Linked DNA regions of Homo sapiens: all the other regions are linked to region 1. The links are contacts of gene promoters, found by promoter capture Hi-C in blood cells and fetal thymus (Javierre and others, 2016). All regions are on one chromosome and are shown on one strand. Each heading gives the region's core, a stretch centred on a gene start or on the middle of the fragment in contact. The rest is flanking DNA. Distances are from core to core; before and after follow the strand shown. Region 1 holds the start of MECR (mitochondrial trans-2-enoyl-CoA reductase). Region 2 overlaps PUM1 (pumilio RNA binding family member 1). Region 3 has its middle 23 kb from the start of LINC01778. Region 4 has its middle 5.9 kb from the start of LAPTM5. Region 5 overlaps LAPTM5 (lysosomal protein transmembrane 5). Region 6 has its middle 25 kb from the start of MATN1-AS1. Region 7 has its middle 47 kb from the start of MATN1-AS1.

Region 1 (3,020 bases), core at 322-2,821:
CGGCTAATTTTTTTGTATTTTTAGTAGAGATGGGGTTTCGCCACGTTGGCCAGGCTGGTCTAGAACTCGTGACCTCAGGTGATCCACCCGCCTCAGTCTCCCTAATGCTGGGATTACAGGCGTGAGCCACCGTGCCCAGCTCTAGCCTGAATTTTAACCATTAAAGTAATACCACATTTGCCCATCCTTTGGAAAATAATCAAACTATTTGCTGGGAATCAAAGAGTTAAAAAGAAGGTACTGCACAAGAGTATGCAGGTGTTTTTTGGTGGAGAGCACTACATAGATCTTAGGTGATTACCACTATGAACTTTGTCTGTACTGTCTCCATTTTTTAAGATGATGAAACCGAGGCTCAGAGAACCTCAGTAACTTGCCAAATGCAAAGCTAGGACAAGGATTTGACCCCAAGTATTTTGATTCCCAGACCTGTGCTTTTGCTTTAGCTCCACTTCAGTGGCCCCAATAGCCCTTCTGAATGGCTATTTATGTGCAGATTTACAATGGTTGGCAACTGACATACTATTTTTATCAACCACGTGCAAAAAGCATGAATTAAGATCCAACAGAATTTTAGGAGGAGGACAAAGTCATAAAAGTAACGAGAAGTTGAATGACTTCTCTAAGACCAAACAGCTACTAAGACGTTGAGCCTGTATTTGACCAAATATAGATACTTGGGTCTGTATGGCACCAAAGCAGCTCTTTTTAACCAAGCCAAGATGCATATACGGTGCAGTGGAGAGAAACATGAGTTTGGAATCAGAAGCCATGGATTCCAGTCTCCTGTTCCAATCACTTATTAGCGGTATCACTCTGGGCAAGTCCCTTGCCCTCTGGAAACAATGATCTATGACCTACTCTTTACTGACACATGAAGATCCAAATGGATGTAAAAGTATTCTGAAAACTTCTTCCAAATAATAATAATAATAGTAAGAACTCACGCAGGTCAGTCAGACATAGGTTGGAATTCTGACCCTGTCACTTACTGGCTGTGTGACCTTGGACGAGTGATTTTACCTCTTCTGCCTCAGTTTTCATCTGCAAAATGGGGATAAATCAATAACTACCCCAAAACATTGTTGTGACAATTAAATGAGAGCATCCATTTAAACAAGGGATTGCCTGACACAATATTCGATCAATAAACATCAGCCATTAATACCCTGATAATTGCCTCTCGGGTCTTCAGCTACCTTCAAGTACGGTCTTTCTGACCTACCAAAAACGCCCTGGGCTTCGGCTTCGGTTTGCTATTCTCTGCCCCCTTCCTCGGACCCTGTCCCTCTCTTCCCAGTCCGCAGCTCGTGTTAAAGCCTTCCAGAAACCCCAGTCCCCTTCCCCGGCTTCGGCGCCGTCTCTTACTCGACGACCTTGGCTGGATCCCCGTGGTGCCCATAGACAAGCGCCCGGACCCGGGCAGGCTCGGCGGATGCGGAGTAGGAGGAGGCGGCAGGTCCGTGACAGCCAGAAGCTGGGAGCAGCCCCCGCCACTGCCGGGCGGGGGTTCGCACCCGCCACAGGGTACTGCAGACCCACATGCTCGCTCCAACCAACACAGAGCCTGACGCCCCGGCTACGTCATCTTCCAGCGACCGCGCGCCTGCGCCCCGCCCCTGCCCCGCCGGGTGACCACTCCCCCTTGGTCCCTTTGAAGGGCGTTTCCTTCCTTCGCTGCCCAAGTGGTGGCGCCTGGCTAGACTGCGTGTGGGCCCCGGAGGGATCCGGGGGTGCGGAGCTTGCGAGGCCGCCAAAGCTGTTGTCTCAACAAGGAGAGTCTGGGGCTAGTCCAAAGTCGTGTCTACAGCCTGCAGTTTGGTGTTTGATTTGGAGGAAATATTTACTCTCCCTGGCCTCAGTTTACCCTTCACATAATATATTGAGTGCTCACCGAGCCAGGCTCTTTAAGGTATTATCTCATTTAATCACCACTACCATGTAACGGCATAGGGAGGCAAAGCTTACTTCCCTACACTGAGGAGAGTACACGAAAGCTGCTGTGGAGGCAGGAGTATGGGGCTTGGAGTTAGAAAACTTAGGTTCAAATCCTAGCCCTGCCACTTCCTAGCTTGGCCACCTTGGGCAGGTGAAACTCTGAATTTTTCTCATCGGTACAATGGGGATAATATGCCTCCTTCCGGATTGTTGTGAGGATTGGATGAAATAATAGAGGAATGCTATTGTGGGTGGGAGAACGCATTGTAAAAAACTCTGTTCAGATGTAAGACAGGAATCACAAGGAGAAGGGTCCTCTCTCAAAATGCTCACAGTGTAGAAAGGGATTAAGTGGAACACTGGAAATGCCTGTAAAAAGGTGTAGCCCTATGAAGGATCTAGTCTGATTTTTGGTGTAGGGAAGACATGAACATTACTAAAACCCCAGATCGAGCTGTGGCTCGTGCCAGAGTGCAATGCTGTAGTCTGAAGAGAAGTGCTCTGGGATGGGGTGGGATGGGGTGGGGGCTCTTGGAGGAGGTGCTGTTAGAGCCAGCCCTGTGATTCAAAATCTTCTGTGTGCATAAAAATAATCCGAGGTCCCATCTTAGACCTACTGAATTAGAATCTTGCGGATGGGGGTTCCAGGAATCTACATCCTTACAAGCTCCCAAGAATATTCTGATGCAGGTGTCCCAGGAAACAGGTTTTAAGATACTGAGCCAGGGCTTTGAAGGATAAGGAAGAGTTCCTTTCCTGGATTTTATTGACTTGAAGCTTGCCATCTCCAAGCCTTTCCTCTGAGGAAGAGAGCACAGCAAAGTACTGTGAGCTAGATTTGGACAAACCTGGCTTTATGTCCTAGCTCTGCCATTTTCCAGCCATTTGATTTCGGACAAGTCACCAGGCCTCTCTGTGTCTTCACTTTCTTACTCTTAAAATGGAAGGAATACTAGTTATCTGTTTCAAGATTGTTGTGAGGGTCAAGTGAGATATTATCCACTTGAAGCATTTAGTACAATGCTTGGCACATGGAAGCATTTGATAAATATTATCGGGGGTTATTGTGATTAAATGAGAAA
Region 2 (3,020 bases), core at 349-2,848, 1.7 Mb after region 1:
ACTGACTGCGGGGCTTAAGTCTCAAACTCCTCATCTGTATAAAGGGCTGAAACATCTCTCCCTGACTCCCTAAAGCTTTCTACAAGGACCAATGGTATCTCAAATACAAAGTACTCTGTAAACTGTAAAGCACTGTGAGAGGGTAAGGGTTATTACATAAACTGAGGAATGCACATTGGAGGGACTCTGGAAGAGAGACCAAGAATGCCGGTACCCAGTGTGTGACGACAGCCCGGGCCATAGAATCCTTGGGACGGACTTGGTAGCAGAGTAATGGTGGTCAGAAGAGGGGGTGGCCCAGAGCCCAGGCCACTCCATGAAACCCAATCCTGCAGATGGAGGGGTCTGCCCCCATGCCCACCCCCTCGCATGATGAACTAAGGGGAAAGCTTTATTGATCAGAGTTGGTCTATCAAAAGACTTGCATCAGATCCTAGGACCTATTTCCACATCTATGAGATAGGGACAGCCGCATTCTTCACAGGGCTGTTGGTTCCCAGAACAGTTGTTGAGAACATGTGAAAACCATCTCATGTGTGACTTGACGCAGAGTCGGTTCACAACAAATGACATTATTATGTAAACTAATGAACAAAGATAGTTTTGTTCATCAAAAACTGTGCAGGGAAACTGGTATCATTTATTACACCAGTGTGCTGGACACAATTTAATTGCCATAATTTCCCATGACATGACAAGAGAGCCACTTTACATAGATCTGTTACCTTTGGTCCACTTCCAGCAAGGAATTTGGTGAAAGATGAGGTGAACTAACTTGCCCAAGTGCACACAGAGTGGCGAGACCCACATGTGACCCCAGGTCAATCTGACTGGAATCATGCTATCAGAGCAGCATGGACTGCAGTTCCCAATGCCCGCAGCATGCCACCTCTGCAAGCGCCATGATGGCTACTGCAGTGGGGAATGCTGGGAAAGGGCCCCAACGACAGCTGCTGAGGCAAAATCACATGCTGGACTGGAAACCTGCATCCCCTCAGCTTCCTTTTCTTCTCCCCCTATTCCCAGGGCCTGTTAGTGATTAGCCCTTCCCCTTGAGGGGCCCATGTGAAGTTCCTTCAACCATCCTGACGCTCCACTTCCAGACACCAGCTGGTGTGGGCTTCCACCTGGCCTCTCTGGCTGGACCCAGCCTGTAACTGCCAACACTTACCAAATCTGCCCCTGGAGCAAAGTCGGTGAAGAAGGGCAGATGGCATCCTCAGGCTAGGGCCACGGGCACAATTGTGAGCTCCAGCCTCCTGTGTTACAAGCTAAAAGAGGCTCCCCAGTCTGAAGAGATGAGCATGCTCAGACATTGGACTGCTTGGCAGGCCTCAGTAGTGGGCACAGGTTGGCAGGGAGCAAATGGAGCAGCCCAAACAGAGGAAACGCGGAGGAGGAGAGGCCCAGACAGACGGTGCTGTAACCCAGACAGCTCATCTCAGGGGCCCAAGGAGAATATTCTGATGTGCAGAGTTGGAAATCTGGATTTGTATGTGCAGTATCTTGATTCTGAATGCACTGGGCAGGCTGAACCAAACATCTTTGGTTTAAATTGGGCTCAAAGAGCCATTAGTTTGGCACCTCTCCTCCCACCCTCACAAAACAACAAAACAAGCAGAAAGAAGCATGAGCAGGAAAGGGCTGTCCTGGGGAACTACACTGGGGGTGGGGTGGGGGGAGAGGTTAAAATAAAGCACAAACCCAGATTCCAAAGTTCTGTATTTTTCAAAATAAAGATCACACATTGTTTAGAGACAATCTACACAAGAGTTACAAAAAATAGTTGCCCAGGCATAAGCATACACAGGTTTGTTAATTATACACATATGGTTACAAGTGTGCTTGCAAAAAAGTTCATTGGAAATATACACAAGGCTCTGGAAATGTACACCGTGTAGTGTTACAATTCTATATTCAAACAAGGAAAATTGACAGTATGTTACATTCACTTACAAGTAGACAAAATGCAAAATACAGTTCATCTTCTGTACAAAAGGGAAGGGCGATTCACACTTTACAAGGTGAGAGGGGCTCTGATTGTAAGGAAAGCTCGGGCAAGGCTAGACTTTTGCACGTCCTTTTGACTGTCACAAAATCAAAACATTACTTTTTTAGGATTAAAAAAACACTAGTGAGAACTCAATCTTGAATAACATTTAGAAAGAATCTCGCTATACTTGAGACTAGATGACAAATAAAACCAAGCTATTTTTTTCTTTTTAAACATTAACTAGGCTGTATAAAGAACATTTATTCCTTCAAAAGAAAAAAATTTACTTCTGGTTGAAATTACAATTTACAATATACAACACTATATGCTACGACCATAAAAGGTGAGAATATACACTGAATGCACAGGGCTGGCTAATTCTCTTTTCTTACCAAAAAACGTGTTTATGTTGATTCAAACTTCTCCACATTTACATTACAGGTATACAAATGTACAATTGTACAATCAAAAGTATGTTCGACTACTAGGGTACATTATAGATACAGATTAGACATCAAAACAAGAAAATACTACAAATTTGTATATATGCAAAGTCTACACCAAGTATACACTATATATTTATAGAAGCAAGACCAAAAGCAGAGTTGGATTTTTTTTTCTCATGCTAAATAATCAGATTTTACCTTTCAATGTTAATAGAAAAAAATCCAGTAGGCAGTAAACAATCACACCCGCCCAGCCTCAAAAGACGTTCTGGGTGCTCGCATCTCCTCCTCACGAACAGCCTTCTTCAGCATAATATAGTCTCCAAAAAAGGCATTTTTTAGAATTTCATAAACTTAATGTCACAAACTGAAGCTTTAGCAACTCTGAAACCTTTTTCATTATATATATATATATATATATATATATTTTTTATAAACAGTGTTAAATGCCAGTTTGGGGTCATTTAACTACAATTCAAACTTCTCAGGTTTTTTTGTTTTTGTTTGTTTTTTACTAAAATGAGGAGGTGGGGAAGAGCTATTTGCAAAACTTGCCGGCCAGGCAAATGAGCTAAAAACCT
Region 3 (3,020 bases), core at 135-2,634, 1.6 Mb after region 1:
CTTGGTGTTCTCCAGGCATGGAAGGAGGGCCAGTGCAGCTGGAGCAGAGTGAGGAGGAAGGCCTAGGAGCAATAAAGTCAGACAGGGAGATGGGTCCCGACTACCAAGCACCAGAGCAGCCAGCTAAGAAATACTAATACCTTCCGCCCTTCACCCAGGGCCCACGGTGTGCCAGACGCGGCACTGGGCACTCTTCCTGCAGTGCCTCATTCGCCCTCTCCACGCATCTATGCTTCATTGGCCCCATTTGTCAGGTGAGGGCACAGAGGCCTAGAGAGAGGCAGGCACTTGCCTGAGGCCACCCTACTGGGAAAGATGGGTGCAGGCCTGGAACTCCCATCTGCACTCTAAGCCAGGCTAAGCCAGGCCCTCCTTGCCCACCATCAACCAGGAACAGACCGCAGTCTTACTGGCCTTGATGTGATCCATACTGGAAACAAAGGGTCACTTCCTAGCCAAGGCAGGCCTCCTCCTGGTCTTATGGCCCCATCCCTAGTAAACCCAGTCTCCCAGCTGATGGACATGGCATACCCAGCACACACACAGTGCCTATGTACACACACACACATGCACACACACATACACAGCCACCCTGCCAGGAGGATGATATAGAAAACAGTGCTCTCCACAGAGGATGAGCTTCCAGGCATCAGGTCACTGTGGTCTTCCCAAGCTCCTCATCTCATCGAGGGCACAACCCATCATCTAGGCCAGAAGCTTGAGCACTGTCCTCAACTTGCTTCTCTCTTACCCTCCCCATTTCTCATCGCCTATGAAGCCTGCCCATTCTGAGCCCATCCGGGCTTTGGCACCCATGGCTATCTTCTGTTGGGGCTCTAAAGGTAAGGGTCTTTCCTGCTTTCATGTCCTCTCACCTGCCACCACCTTTGCTGGAGAACCAAGGGCCAGGCGATAGTGGCAGCCGCTGGGGACTTAGGAGTGGAGAAAGGAAGAGCTTTAAAGGAAGATCAGAGCAGTAGGGGGGTGATGTCACCAGCCCAGGACACCTACTGATTGATGCCAACATCACCCTTCAAGACACACACACACAAACACACACACACACACACACACACACACACACACACACACACTCATCTTGAGCTCCTGTTTCATGGCTATCAGGTTGCAATGCCGCTGCTCCAAGACAAAACAGGAAATCCCACGACTAAGCCAGCCAGATGGGGCAAGGGGCTGAGAATCTGAAACCCCCTCTGCTCTCTGCAGTCACCCTCCACCCCCCATCCCACCTCCTGCAGGCTGGAGCTCCGTGGCCAGAACCCTCCCTGGGCACCTCCCTACCCCAGGCACTGCCAGCCCAGCCTCTATTGGATTCAGGGGCCCGAATTCCTGCCCTGTGCAAGCTCCCTGCCCCACACAGGGCCTCATGTCTCCATCGGGAAGTCAGGGGTGGGTGATTTCTGAGGGTCTTTCCAGTTGAGATACTCCAGCTTTTATGGACATTTGCCTCCCAAAGACACGGGGGCTGGGAGTCCCCAAAGTAGAAGTTGCAGTCCGCGGAAAGGCCAGCAGAGGGCACCCGCGCTTCGTTTGCAGGAGGTCCGCGTCGAGCGACAGGCGACAGGGTTGGGAAGAACGCTGGAAACGCTGGGGCTTTGCTTGTACCCCTGACCCATTCCGATTTTCATAAAGCTCCGCATAGTTCCACGGGCAGGCCTCTGTGCCTTCGCACATGCAGCTCCCCTGCCAGCCTGCAAAACTCAACCAGGGATCTCAGCCCTAGGGAGGCCTCTCCTGACCCCTCTCCTCTGCTGCCTCTGGATCCACAGTGCCCGCTGCAGATCTGACTCCAGCAGGGACCAACCGCGGGTGGATGGAAGGATGGACGAAGAAAGCCAGCTACAAGCAGCTACGTGGTCGTTCTCTAGAAACAAATAATTTGACGTGGAAAACTGCTGGGGAGGAAAATCATTTTTAAAATGTAAAACACTCACTGAGGTCTAAGGGCTGGCACCATGATCTTACTTAATCCTAACCAAACGCCTTGTTGGGGTGGGTGGTATTACCCCCATTTTACAGAGAGGGAAACTGAAGCTTAAAGACAGCAAGTGGGCCTGGCACGGTGGCTCATGCCTGTAATCCCAGTACTTTGGGAGGCCAAGGCGAGAGGATCACTTGAGCTCAGGAGTTCGAGGCCAGCCTCAAACTAAAAATACAAAAAATAAGGCTGGGCGCAGTGGCTCACGCCCATAATCCCAGCACTTTGGGAGGCCGAGACGGGTGGATCACCTGAGATCAGGAGTTCAAGACCAGCCTAACCAACATGGTGAAACCCCCGTCTCTACTAAAATACAAAAATTAGCCAGGCGTGGTGGCAGGTGCCTGTAATCCCAGCTACTCAGGAGACTGAGGCAAGAGAATCGCTTGAACCCAGTAGGCAGAGATTGCAGTGAGCTGAGACTGTGCCATTGCACCCCAGCCTGGGCAACAAGAGAGAAACTCCATCTCAAAAAAATAACAATAATAAATATAAATAAATAAATAAAACAGCTGGGGGGCTGGGCACAGTGGCTCACACCTGTAATCCCAGCACTTTAGGAGGCCAAGGTGGAAGGATCACCAGAGGTCAGGGGTTTGAGACCAGCCTGACCAATGTGGTGAAACCCCATCTCTACCAAAAATACAAAATTAGCTGGGCATAGTGCCGCATGCCTGTAATCCCAGTTACTTGGGAGGCTGAGGCAGGAGAATCACTTGATCCCGGGAGACAGAGGTTTCGGTGACCTGAGATCGTGCCATTGCACTCCAGCCTGGGCAACAAGAGCAAAACTCTGTCTCAAAAAAAAAAAAAAAACCAGTTGGGCATGGTGGTGTGCGCCTGCAGTCCCAGCTGCTACTTGGGAGCCTGAAGTGGGAGAAACACCTACACCCAGGAGGTCGAGGCTGCAATGAGCTATGATCAAGCCACTGCACTCCAGCCTGGGGGACAGAGGGAAACCCTGTCTCAAAACGATAAAAATAAAAGAGAAAGAGAGAGCAAATACATTGTCCAAGGTCAC
Region 4 (3,020 bases), core at 249-2,748, 1.5 Mb after region 1:
CCCTCCCCTACTCCCCTGCCTGTGGAAGGGGCCCAGGCCTTGAAGTCAGCCTGGAGGGTCAGCCTGGCAAGGACAGCCCACAGGCCTGTGGCCTGGGGACAACCAGACCTTCCAATGACCAGCTGCTGAGTCCAGTGGGCAGGCAGGGGACCCCAACGGTCTGCCAGACACTCCAAGGAGGCCTCCCCTCAGCCAGGCAGTCCAGGGGTCCCTGGCTGCACCCAGGGGCACAATGACACCATATCCTAGTCTGCTGCTGCCACAGGCACTGCAGGCTGAAGGCTCCAGGGAGATGGGACCAGCAGGCAGAAGGAGCACTGGCTGCAAAGTCTGCATAGCCGAGCCAGCAGCCTCCTGCTGAATAACAGCTCTGGGCACACCCCAGGACGGAGCATTTTAGATCATGGGTGCAGCCGTACTATCCATGGGGAGCTGGAAAACCCGGCTCCCTCCTGGCCCTGGTCTCCAACCAGCCTCTGCCTCACTCTGAGCTGTAGAGTGGGGATTGTCATAGCGCATCCAGTGTGCTGCTGCAAGGACTAGGTAATTCCCTCCTAAGCACCAGCCTCTGCCAGAGCCCCCTCCTCCCTGCTGCTGACCTCATCCTCAGGAAAAACCTCAGAGATCCAGGCACCTTAAGAAGTTGGTGGCAAAATAGCACAACTGCCATCAACACCACAGTAGGAGTTACCTCATTAGGTCATTCCCCCAGCTAGGGGATTTTTATTTTAAAAAATGAAACAACAACCACTAGCAAACAACAAAAGTGATAGGCCCCACTGAGGACCAAATCTGGGGCCAGGCTTTAGATACCTAAAAAAGAAGAAGAAGAAGAAGAAGCAAGGTAGAGAACTACTACACATGGTGTGCGATTTAGTCACTTCTAGGAAAGCTGCAACTTTCTTGATTTGAAAGGGACAGACTTCATAAGCACATGTCTTCTACCCATTGTCCTAACTCCCTTCGACCTTCTGTAAATGCAGGTGCAATGCCTGGAGGCACAGAAGCCATTTGGGGACCATGAGAACAAAAACGATACCCTAATGCAGAGCGGAAAGAGAGGAAGAGCCGGGATCCCTGATGCCATCATGAAGCCTCTGCACCAGCCCTGAACCTCCTTTCTCTGTACATCTTGTAATGTGAGGGAAAAAAACCTCCCCAGGCCTTCTGACTTCATCCCTTCAACAAGAGCCTTGTTTTGTGTGCTCAGGACATAGCAGTGAACAAGGCAGACAAGGTCCCTGGTCTCATGGAGCAAACATTCTAGTAGAGGAGGCGGTGAACAAGGACACACATGAACAAGAGCATCTCAGCAAGTGACAGCTCTCCATCACTTCCTCCTGCTGCCTTCCTAGCCTGGTTTCTGGTCTTGACTGGAGCACAGAATTGCTGTGGGGCTTTGGAATGGCCACTTCCCCACTCCAACTTCTGTTTTCCTGTCTATAACATCAAAGAGGTGTCCAAATCCATGCTCTCTGAGGCCTGGCCCCTCTCAGCCAGGCCCCGGCACCAGGCAGGTTACTCCAAGCAGCTGCACCCAGAGGCTGGACCCCCTCCAAAGCGACTGGGCTGTTGCTGCCCTCAAATTCCTCGGCACTGGGTAAACAGCTAGGCAGCTCCCGTCAGCCAGCCAGGCCTCCTGACCACCCCTCTCAGGGACATCCATAAATTTTCAGCCAGCTGCAGGCTGAAGAGCCCAACTGTGACTCAGGCTCTTCCTGCCAGTGCCCGGCACAGAGCAGCCCGAAGGGCCAGGCCATGAGGGGGCCACCCCTGCTGTTCTAGGGCCACCATCCCTACTCTGGGGACCCCAGCTGTGGCTAGTCCCTGCCCAGATCAGCCACTGAGTCTTAGTACCCCTGTATGGCGTGCACACACACACACACACACACACACACACGCACACACCGCACCCATCGTGCACTCCATACATCTCAAACTGACCCCTCTGGGTGTTGGCCCCTCCAGCCTCCCCACTGCCCAGCCAGAGACCACAGCACAGCCTCCTCTCTCTCCTCACCCTCACTTCCACCTCCTCCCAATCGCCAAGCCCTGTGGATTCTGCTTCCCTCCCACCTCCCAAATCTGTCTGCCTTCCTCCACCCCTACTGCCCAGATCCAACCCCCTACGCCACCCCACACCTGAGACTTTGCTGTGGCAAAAGGCAGGGAGCAGAAAGAGAGGCCTGACCTGAACCAACCAGGCTCCAGGGGCTGCTGCCTGGGCCAGCCACACTGCTTCACCCAGCAGGGAAGGGTTTCTTTGGCCAAGGGGCTTGGAGGGCTGGGATCTATCAGGCCTGGGGCTCCGGGCCACTGTCCAACAAGTGGCTAAAGAGCAGGAGGTCTAGACCACCAACAAATTCAGAATATATATACATATATAATTTTTTTTCTTTTTTCTGAGTCAGGGTCCTGCTGTGTCACCCAGGCTGAAGTGCAATGCTGCACACAGCTCACTGTAGCCTCGGGCTCCCAGGCTTAAGCAATCCTCCCACCTCAGCCTCCCAAGTAGCTGGAACCACAGGCATGCACCACCATGCCCGGCCAACTTTTTTATCTTTTGTAGAAATGGGGGCTCACTTTGTTGACCAGGCTGGTCTCGAACTCCTGGGATAAAAGGTTCTCCCACCTCAGCCTCCCGAGGTTCTGGGATTACAGGTGTGAGCCACCGCACCTGGCTATATATGTACCTGAACAATTAAAACCTTTTGACAAACGAGGAGATCAACTAGGGCATGCATCTGACTGAAAGGTCACACTCCCCACAGAACAGCTCTGCCTCGGCTCCTGGAGCCCACTACCTGTGCTTGCTTGTGAGGATGCCCCCATTAGGACGCGTGTGTGGAGACCGTGTGGCCCCGCACACACCGGCCTTGTCATCAAGGGAACTTGGGTCTGTTCTGGCATCCTCCAGGGGAACAGTGTGAATATACTAATCTGGCAGGCGACTGCATCATTCATTTCTCCAAGCAGCGTCAGGTATGTCTTGAATGCCTGCTATGTGCCAGGCACTGTAT
Region 5 (3,020 bases), core at 158-2,657, 1.5 Mb after region 1:
AAGGCCCCTCCACTGCATCCCCTTCTGTAACAACAAGCTCTGGGGATCAGAGAGCACCATAGAGCTTCAGGTTCCCGGAATCATCAACACAGGCCCAGGAGGGCCCTGGAGAGCATCTAACCCTGAATCTCTGTCTCCCATGGCCCCTCAGGGAACAATAACATCTTCCTCATAGGATTGTGGTGGGGCCAGATGGGATAATTCACTTAAAGTACCTGGCAGATAGTAAGCACTCAATCTGTGCTGTTATCCATTATCCCCATTCGACTGTAGGTTCCAGGCAGGGAAAGCCTGTATGTCTCTTTGTTCATTCCCCTAGCTGTTGTATTTGTTGAATGAATGAATGAATGAATGAATGAACAAATGAACCCCACACTCTCAGATGACCCTTGCTAAGAATGATGTGGAAGGGGCGAATCTGATAGGCCTGAGTGTTGGGGTGGCCCTAGAAACAACTGAAGTTCAGCCACAAAACTGCAGTTTTAAAGAACCTTGGAGGTCACCTTATCCATGCCTCCCATAAACCTGTGCCATGCAGCCTCTACTTAAGTGCTTCCAGCCATGGGGAACTCACAACCTTATGTGTGTCCATGTCCTCACAGCAAGCCCTCCACCCTTCCCCTATGACATACATACAGTTCTCCAGGTAACCTCTGCCCATATAAAGAACAAGAAAACTGTCCCCTCCCCTCTAGTCGGTGCCCTATCTCTATTAATATGGCCCTAAGTTTACATCGGCTTTCTAGGCAGCCCTGCACTGGTAACTCATGCTCAGCTGACAGGCAACCAGCCACCCACCATCTGTTTCCCCCTTGCTGACTGTGTGGGTTTTTTTTTTTTTTTTTTTTTTAGCTCAGACACAGGTCTCAACTTGTCTTCCTGCCACATTACATCCTGTTTAGGGGCGTGGAAAGGGACTGAACGGAAGAGTGATGAAGAGCTGGGCTCCAGAATCAGATCAAGAGGATTTTGAATCCAGGTCACTGTGTGACCTTGGGCAAGTCTCTTAACCTCTCTGAGTTTCCTCATCTGGAAAATTGCAATCACTGGATTTAGTGAAGATTAAATTGCATTATATTTGCAAAGCACTGAGCTCAGGGACTGGCAGGGGGTGCCCAGCAAACAGAATCTGCTTTTGGCTGGGGCAAGCTTACGTGGTTCGGCAGTAGTACCAGGAGCACGGTGCATGCTCTAACTGCCCCCTCTACCTGCTAAAGAGTGAGCTGGAAAGGCTTTGTCTCATCAGGAAAGTTGAGAACACCCCAAAAAGAAGGCAGGTGTGGTGAGGGCTGTGGCTGACACTCACAGGAAACAGCCCTGAGAGAAAAAAACTCCTTCCTCAGCCCCTAAAGGCCAGGCCGCAGCCCCTCTCCTCTCAGTTTCACCTTGAACGAGAGAAAGAGAAAGGGAGGCAGATGACAGCTCCGTCCAGCACAGAACGGGGTGTCCTGTGAAGTGGTGAGCTCCCTGTTCCTGGGAGTATGTAAGCAGATCACAGATGAGTCACAGCTGGGCTTAGAGAAGGACCATGAGCATCTGCCAGCTGTGAAATGAGAAGACTTTCAAAGTCTCAAGATTCCAGGATTATCTGAGATCTGGAACAAAGCCTAGAATCAGATCATCTCAACCTCCCCTTGCTAGAAGGAGCCTGCATGTACTTGTTTTATAAGCTTCCTCTGCTTGTTTTATAAACTCAGAGAGATTAGGTGGCTTGCCCAAGGACACACAGCAAGTTGAGGGAGGAGCCCAAGTCTCCCAGTGCTGTTCTGATGCCTTCCCATTCCCCTGACCCCCAAAATGCCTCAGAGCCCTGCTAGCCTGAACCCCGGAGAGGACTTAGATATTTTGATCATGCATCTATGTCAGTAAAACCTTTTGCACACACGCCTCTATTTTTCTTTCTTTCTAAATTACACGCATGTGTTGCTGTCCTAGTTTATCATGAACATCATAAAACAGCTACTAAAAAATTTCCAGAAATTAAAAAATTATATGATGGAAAAATTTAGAAATTTTAATATTGTCCTCCTGAGGCCATGAGGTCACCTTGGACATTACCCGACTTTAGAGACCTCTACTAATCCTCAACTCCCCCTACAACTCCTCTGTTCTCCTCCAAGCATCCCTTACTGCCCTGTAACCCCTCCAATCACCCCAGGGGAAGAAGGGGACATTTGTACAGCCTAACTCCATGCCACATGATCTTCCCCACTACCCAGAAAAGGGACTATTCTTAATACTTTCCTTCCCATTTCACAGACGAAGAAAGTGCAGCTCAGAGAGGTCCAGGGCCTTGCCCAAGGCCTCCCAGCTGGTCATATGCAGGGCTAGGGTTCAAATCTTGGCCAATTCCCTCCGCTGCCCGGCATCTTCCAGCCACCCGGGCTCTGCCTAAGGCCTAACCCTTCCCCTCAGTGCCTCAGTGGAGGCAGAGAGGCGCCCCCATCCCCTCTCCCTCTGCAGTCCCCCCTCCCTCCCCTCAGCCCCAGCACCAGGCACCAGAGGTATTTCTACTTTTGTGAAAACCACCTGCATTTAAAACCCAGGCTCACCCTCCCCCATTTCACCTTTTCTCAACAACCCTGCGGCAGGGGACGAGGGAGGACTTTGTCCCCATTGCCGGATGGCTCACGAGACTCATAGAGGGCAGGGGACCAGCCCACAGTCACAGAGCGAGGCAACCTCAGAGCCTGACTTAGACTCTGAGGGGCCCCGACCTTCCACGAAGATGCCAGGCCCTGACCCAGGAGAAAGGGAGGAAGCTCGGCTCTCCAGGCACCCATGTGGCTCTCTAGGACATAGGATGGAGAGGAACTCACATTTATTCAGCACCTACTGTGTGCTCAGACCTGCACGCACAGGCTTGCACTGCAATCTCCCAAAACTTTACAAGACAGGCAACATTTTCCCGTTTTACAGATGAGGAAATGGAGGCTGAGAGAGAACTCACATGTCCTGTGTCACGTGGCCCGGCTGGGGTGTGAACCCTGTTGCCTCTCTCCTGGGGTCAGGGCTCCCCA
Region 6 (3,020 bases), core at 226-2,725, 1.5 Mb after region 1:
TAGCGGAGCTCACACCTTGCCAGCGCCATCATTGTGCCTGAGCCCTCGCACAAGCCTGGGGGATGTGGACTACCACCCCTCTGACAGGAGGACACTGAGGTCTGAGTGGTGAGGAAACTGGTCCAGCCCCCGCAGCCAGGGAGGGCAGAGCTATTCAGTCACCACGGGGACAGAGAAGCCATCACTGCCCTCCAGGCCCCCAGTCCAGTGAGGAACAGATGATGGCAGCACCGTGGGATCTGATGAGGGAGACACAGAGGGTGTGGGAGCTACAGGGTCCCCTAGCCCATCCTGGGGGATCAGGGAGCTCCCCAAGGAGGTGCTGCCTACACTGGGACCTGGAAGATAGCAGGGGTTAATTCTACCTGGAGGAGGAGAATGGGAGGAGGATGTGGAAGGGAGAGGAGGAAGAGGAAGAAGAGAAGAAGAGAGGGAGGAGGAGGGAGAGGAGGAAGAGGAAGCAAGGAGGAAGAGGGGAGGAGGAAGAAGAGAGGAGGAAGAAAAAGAGGAAGAGAAGAGAGGAAGGAGAAAGAGAAAGAAGAGGAGGAGAAAAGAAGGAGGAAGAAGAGAAGAGTAAGGAAGAGGAAGAGGAGGAGACAAGGAGGAGGAAGTGGGGAGAAAGAGAAAAAAGGTGGGGGAGAACAGGATGCAGTGGAGAGAACAACAAGTTTCCTTGGTGGTATCAATGGAGGTTTGCTCAATGAATGCATCTGCCAGTCGACTCCCACCCCGGCCTCCGCTCCTCCCAGCCCCCTGCCCAGGTGCCCTTCCTAGCCCGTTTGTGAGTTCAGTGTCGTCTCCACAGCCTGCCTCTTCAGGGGTGACTTGGGCTTCCCCAGAATGCCATCATATCTCTCTCCCCACTGTCTGCTTGGAATGTTGGCTCCTCCAGTGAGATGTGCATTCCCGGGGCCCAGGAACAGCCCTCATGGGACCCACCTCCAAGTGAGCAGCCTGTGCTTCACAGGAAAAGACCCAACGTTGAGCTGAACTAACTGTGGACCTAGCCCAGGCTTGGATCAGTGGCAAGTCCTACCACCAATGTCTGCAGTCTCAGCTCCCCCTGATGTACAAGTCCCCTTGTCCCTCCTGTATGGGGTCAGGGGAAAAGCAGGGACTTTGGGGTCAACCAGACCTGGGTTCAAATTCCCCTCCTGCCACTTAACGAGCTGAGTGGCCTGGGACAAGTCAGTCATCCTCAGGAACTCAGACTCCCCTCCGGGACAGTGGGAGTGGCCATGTCCATGTCAGGGGACAGCACATGGGTTGATGGGGCAGCCCTGGCGCACAGTAGGTGCTCAGTAAACCTCAGCACCCACCAGTCCTGACAAAGCCCATCAAATGCTATAACTTGCATACAATGCAGACAGAACCAAGAATCAAAGAAGCTTCTGCATGAACCCTTGATCAGAGCAGCCTCCAGTCCCCAGCCCCACTCATCAGAGGCTCCAGCCAGGCCTGGAGCCCACCTCAGACCTACTTCTCCTAACATAATTTGTATGTTTTTTGTGAGGGTTATTCCACCCACTACATAGAATAAATCTTTCAGGATGTTTAAATTCCAAGCTTTCTTGTAATTCCCCCAATATGTGAAGAGAGATTGTTGTGTTTCAGCAAAGGTCACACATAAAACGTACCGTACTGGATGGGAAAGGAGGCGAGGGCTGGATTAAGGAGCAATTGCCATCATTCATTAGGGGAAATCACAACACCTCCTTTCAAGGAGCACTTGCTCTGCCAGGGCTGCGAAGCCCAGATGACTGCACTCTCCTCCCCGCCACCTCAGAAATACATAATTTAGGAGCTCTAAGCTGCACTGCTTCTTACAGCAAGGGTGTGAGGCATGTTTCCTGAGTGCTGCTTCCTCAGGCCCATGAGAGCCCTGCAGGGCAGGAGGATCATTACCCACCCCCCACCCACCCCCGCCCCGCAATGATGGAGACAGGTAGAGTGAGAGGTGCAGGGACTCGCCCACGACCACACACAGCAGGAAGGGGTGGGCTGGGCTTTGAACCCAGGTGTCTCTGGCTCTAAGGCCCCTTCTCCTTGTCCCCCACTCTCCTGCTCCCTGAGAACACAGTAGGATTACAGCAGGAAAGGTGAGCAGAGAAATTAGCCCAATCCAGGCAGATACTCCCCCAGGCTTTGGATTCAACCCGCTCCTCTGCTCATTTGCATGTATTTACATGCCAAGGCTCCAGAGGCCTCAAGTATAGGCAATAAAATCAATTAATTATTGCAGCCGACCAGTGGGCACTTAGCTGCAGGATGCCCTCAGATCACTGTAACACACAGAATGGATTTTGGACAAGATCTGTGTCATTGCCTCTTGGGTCAACAGAGCCAGCCCTGAACCGGGCCCAGTCTCTACCACCAGCCTTTCTTGGTCAGAAGTGAGATGCTCAAGGAAAAAGGATGACTTAATTTTCTGGAATAAAGAGTCTCTGCTATTTTGTGTTCTTACACCATAATACCCCTCTATAAAACCAGGGCCTCTGCTCTCTGCAAATGCAGCCAAGGCAGAGCCTTCTCCTACCCAGAGCCACCTGGATGCTCAGATAAGTCCTACCCCAAGCCCGGGGTGAAAGGACACCCCAGGCAGAGTGAGGGAAGGTGATATAGCCCAGGTCACACAGACACGACTGAGTGGTGGCAGGCTTCCCTCTGATGAGCAGCTCCGGTCACCTCCGGGGTCCACCCATTAGTGCCCAGTCCCTGAGAGACCTGGGAGGAGGGGGTGGTGGGGCAGAGATCTGGGGCTCCTGGACCATGAGACCCAAATGCTATAATGCCCTAGATCCTACAATTCCAGTACCTTTAAGTGACATGGGAGGAATCACATGTTTTCTACCAGCCATGTTCAGAGCCCTTTCTGGGGCCTGGTCTGTCTGCCCACAGGCTGGAAAAAGGCTGAACAGTGGGGTTGATCATGCCCAGATGTGTGTGTGAATTAATGCATTGACAAATGCAGGAACAAATGAACTGATGCCTGAATGAATGTAGTAACGAATGGTGTGAAT
Region 7 (3,020 bases), core at 261-2,760, 1.4 Mb after region 1:
TGTTAAATACAGAATGGACTCCTATCCTGGGGGCTTCCTTCCCGCCTGCCTCCTGGAGTTATGCCTGGGAAGGAAAGGATCTGAGAGCAGAGGGGCGTGGAGCAGCTTTCCCTCCTGGAGTCCCAGGAAGAAAGGGATGCTGAGGTATCCAGGGGCTGTGGCTGCAGGTGGCCACACAGTGTTTCCTGCAACTGGTATGGCATAGAAGAAGCCCAATGAGGCTGACTCGAAGCAGGCCTGCAGGCAGATCAAGCCCAGCTCCCTGCATGACTCCGTGGCCGAGGGGAGGGCAGGGGATGCTTCTACAGATGCCAAGATGGTGAATGGGCCCTGGAGTGAGACACACCCTGGGATAGGATCCAGATGTGTCAGGATCATGAGAAAAGACAACAAGCCACATCTCATGGACTTCTGAACTGAAATTTGTAGCTGCTACATGGGGGGCTCTTCCATCCCCTCCAGGACTCAGCCCCAGCACGGGGGGGAAGGAACAATGCTTTTCACATGCTTTCCACATGCTTTCTCCAAAAAGTGGAAGAGAGTAGACCACACCGGGCTCAGGGGTTTTAACCAAAGCTGATGCCCTCAAGCACCACGGTAGTTAAGTTTATGTATCACCTTGGCTGGGCCATGGTGCCCAGATATTTGGTCAAACATTGTTCTGGGTGTTTCTGAGGGCACTTTTTAGATGAGACTAACATTTACATTGGTGGACTTCTGGTAAAGCAGATTGCCCTCCATAATGTGGGTGGGCCTCATCCCATCAGTCGGAAGCCCGAGTAGAATAAAGAATGACTTGCTCCCCTGAGCAAGAAAGAATTCTGCTAGCGGACCCAGATAGCAACTCTTCCCTGAGTTTCCAGCCTGGCGGCCCACCCATTAGAGTTTGGACTTGCCAAGCCTCCACAGTTGTGTGATCCAGTCCTTAAAATAAATCTCTCTTGGGCCGGGCGCAGTGGCTCACGCCTGTAATCCCAGCACTTTGGGAGGCCGAGGCAGGCAGATCACGAGATCAGGAGATCGAGACCATCCTGACTAACACGGTGAAACCCTATCTCTACTAAAGATAACAAAAAATAGCCGGGCGTGGTGGCAGGCGCCTATAGTCCCAGCTGAGGCAGGAGAATGGCGTGAACCCGGGAGGCGGAGCTTGCAGTGAGCCGAGATTGCACCACTGCACTCCAGCCTCGGCAACAGAGCAAGACGCTGTCTCAAAAAGAAATAAAATAAAATAAATCTCTCTCTGTCTCTCTATACACACACACACACACACACACACACACACACACACACACGGTATTTATGTACTATGGATACTACAGCATCTATAATACTATGTAGACATGTATATAGATACATATACATAGTATCTACATATGTGTGTATGTGTATATACACATGCATACACATATATGTATATATTGGTTCTATTTCTCTGGAGAGCCCTGATGAAAACAAGCACTGAGTTATATTTTATCTCTAATACTATGAACCATTGATGTTTCATTTCATAAGATATTCATATTTGTCTTAATATAGAAATATGCTCAGTATCCTGTCAGTTAAGTTACTCAGCATGTCCCTCACCAGTTCCCCAATTGAGTACAAGGCTGTTTGGTAGGAGATGCTCTTGGCGATTACCCCACCTGGCCCCGCTAAGCCTGCCCTCACCAAGGTCTCTCGCAGTCTCCTCCTGTGTCTCAGTCCACTCTTCCTCAGTCTTCTCAGCAGGACTTTCTTTCTCTGCCTATTCCTTAGGATTTAGGTTTCTCAATATTTTATCCCTCTGCATTTAGTCCATTTGTCAGGCATTAAGGCCCATCATGATTCGGCCCTGATGTACTTCTCCAGCCTCGCTTCTAAGCAATCCCCTGAGCACGTGTCCTTAGCCAAATGCACTCACAGTCAGATAACCACAAACCCTTTCTGAGCACCTGCTATAAGACAAGTCTCGACCCATTTGCCCTTTCCAGAAGATGCTGTGTAGTTTCCTGCCCCCATGCCTCATTTTCACCCTGCTATTCCCTTTCCAGGCTTCGCTTTCTCCCCACTCCTTTCTTTACTTGGAAAACTCCCATCCATCCTTCAAAGCCCAGCTCAGATGTCCCACCTGAACTTCTGTTCTTGGCAGTGTGGTCAACCAGATACCCTAAACAACTCTCCCCATGCAAACAACCTCAATGCTGGATAAAGTTCTTTTTAATCCTTTTAAAGGCATCAATGAACTGGCACAAAATTATGAAATCCAAAGAGGCCAAAAACAAAGAGACAGAAGGATTCCTAGGCAGTGAGAAGCACCCAAACTAGCATTTTTCCCCAAAGTTTCACAAAACCCTGGAGACATTCATAGGAGATAAAGCCCAGAGCCAACCACGGTGATAGGCCTAATAGAAGAGTCCAGCATAAAATGAGAACCCCAAAGGACTATACCCTTTGTGAATGGCTGAATAATAAATAAACATGCTGTAAAGAGAGGAGCAACAAGAAAACATGTCTGTCCCAAACTCAGCGCCAGGTGAACAGAGGAAATACTGTGAAAACAAATTGTAACTATTTCTTATGGATTTGGAGTCAAATTTATGATATACATGACCAAAACTTCAAATAGAACATTTAATAAAAAGTGATTCTGGACTGGGTGTGGTGGCTCATGCCTGTAATCCCGGCACTTTGGGAGGCCAAGACAGGAGGATCACAAAGTCAGGAGATCGAGACCATCTTGGCCAACATGGTGAAACCCCACCTCTACTAAAAATACAAAAATTAGCTGGGTGTGGTGGTACTTGCCTGTAATCCCAGCTACTCAGGAGGCTGAGGCAGGAGAATGGCTTGAACCCAGGAGGCAGTGAGCCGAGCTCACATCACTGCACTTCAGCCTGGAGACAGAGTGAGACTCCGTCTTAAAAAAAAAGAGTGATTCTGAGTTGCTAGTGGTCCCAAGTGATGAGAAGCAACCAATACAAGTTGAAAGAATGCAACCTCTAAGGAACATGAGCTCACAGAACACACAAGAAAACAAA

What was found. Contacts are between HindIII fragments. The CHiCAGO score rates a contact against its expected background, and 5 or more counts as called.
Region 2: a fragment that was not itself captured here is called in contact with the fragment with the promoter of MECR in region 1 in 1 of 17 cell types (naive B cells); the score reaches 6.5 in naive B cells.
Region 3: a fragment that was not itself captured here is called in contact with the fragment with the promoter of MECR in region 1 in 2 of 17 cell types (total B cells and naive B cells); the score reaches 9.9 in total B cells.
Region 4: a fragment that was not itself captured here is called in contact with the fragment with the promoter of MECR in region 1 in 6 of 17 cell types (endothelial precursors, naive CD8 T cells, total B cells and 3 more); the score reaches 7.8 in endothelial precursors.
Region 5: a fragment that was not itself captured here is called in contact with the fragment with the promoter of MECR in region 1 in 2 of 17 cell types (naive CD4 T cells and fetal thymus); the score reaches 5.5 in naive CD4 T cells.
Region 6: a fragment that was not itself captured here is called in contact with the fragment with the promoter of MECR in region 1 in 13 of 17 cell types (total B cells, naive B cells, megakaryocytes and 10 more); the score reaches 17.8 in total B cells.
Region 7: a contact is called between a fragment that was not itself captured here and the fragment with the promoter of MECR in region 1, in 2 of 17 cell types (total B cells and naive CD4 T cells). The highest score is 8.6, in total B cells.

The regions. Positions count from the first base shown.
Region 1 is chr1:29,229,363-29,232,382 of GRCh38, forward strand. It overlaps MECR (mitochondrial trans-2-enoyl-CoA reductase), which reads right to left and starts at 1,572. Exons shown (of 10, transcript NM_016011.5): 1 at 1,369-1,572. The coding sequence starts at 1,544. RefSeq lists enhancers at 948-1,448, 1,449-1,949, 1,474-1,583. The HindIII fragment of the contact is 2,647 bases long and covers 1-1,961 here.
Region 2 is chr1:30,929,801-30,932,820 of GRCh38, forward strand. It overlaps PUM1 (pumilio RNA binding family member 1), which reads right to left. Exons shown (of 22, transcript NM_001020658.2): 22 at 1,706-3,020. Among named protein-coding and RNA genes, the nearest start is that of SNORD103A, 4.5 kb to the right of the region's middle. The HindIII fragment of the contact is 2,423 bases long and covers 388-2,810 here.
Region 3 is chr1:30,800,376-30,803,395 of GRCh38, forward strand. No RefSeq gene overlaps it. Among named protein-coding and RNA genes, the nearest start is that of LINC01778, 23 kb to the right of the region's middle. RefSeq lists an enhancer at 1,407-1,701. The HindIII fragment of the contact is 1,338 bases long and covers 716-2,053 here.
Region 4 is chr1:30,762,124-30,765,143 of GRCh38, forward strand. No RefSeq gene overlaps it. Among named protein-coding and RNA genes, the nearest start is that of LAPTM5, 5.9 kb to the left of the region's middle. The HindIII fragment of the contact is 4,408 bases long and covers 1-3,020 here.
Region 5 is chr1:30,742,968-30,745,987 of GRCh38, forward strand. All of the region lies in intron 1 of LAPTM5 (lysosomal protein transmembrane 5), which reads right to left. It overlaps LOC105378620 (a long non-coding RNA gene), which reads right to left. Exons shown (of 2, transcript XR_007065566.1): 2 at 823-3,020. Among named protein-coding and RNA genes, the nearest start is that of MIR4420, 5.2 kb to the left of the region's middle. RefSeq lists enhancers at 962-1,091, 2,533-2,592, 2,603-2,792. The HindIII fragment of the contact is 521 bases long and covers 1,148-1,668 here.
Region 6 is chr1:30,692,308-30,695,327 of GRCh38, forward strand. No RefSeq gene overlaps it. Among named protein-coding and RNA genes, the nearest start is that of MATN1-AS1, 25 kb to the right of the region's middle. The HindIII fragment of the contact is 178 bases long and covers 1,387-1,564 here.
Region 7 is chr1:30,670,568-30,673,587 of GRCh38, forward strand. No RefSeq gene overlaps it. Among named protein-coding and RNA genes, the nearest start is that of MATN1-AS1, 47 kb to the right of the region's middle. The HindIII fragment of the contact is 9,811 bases long and covers 1-3,020 here.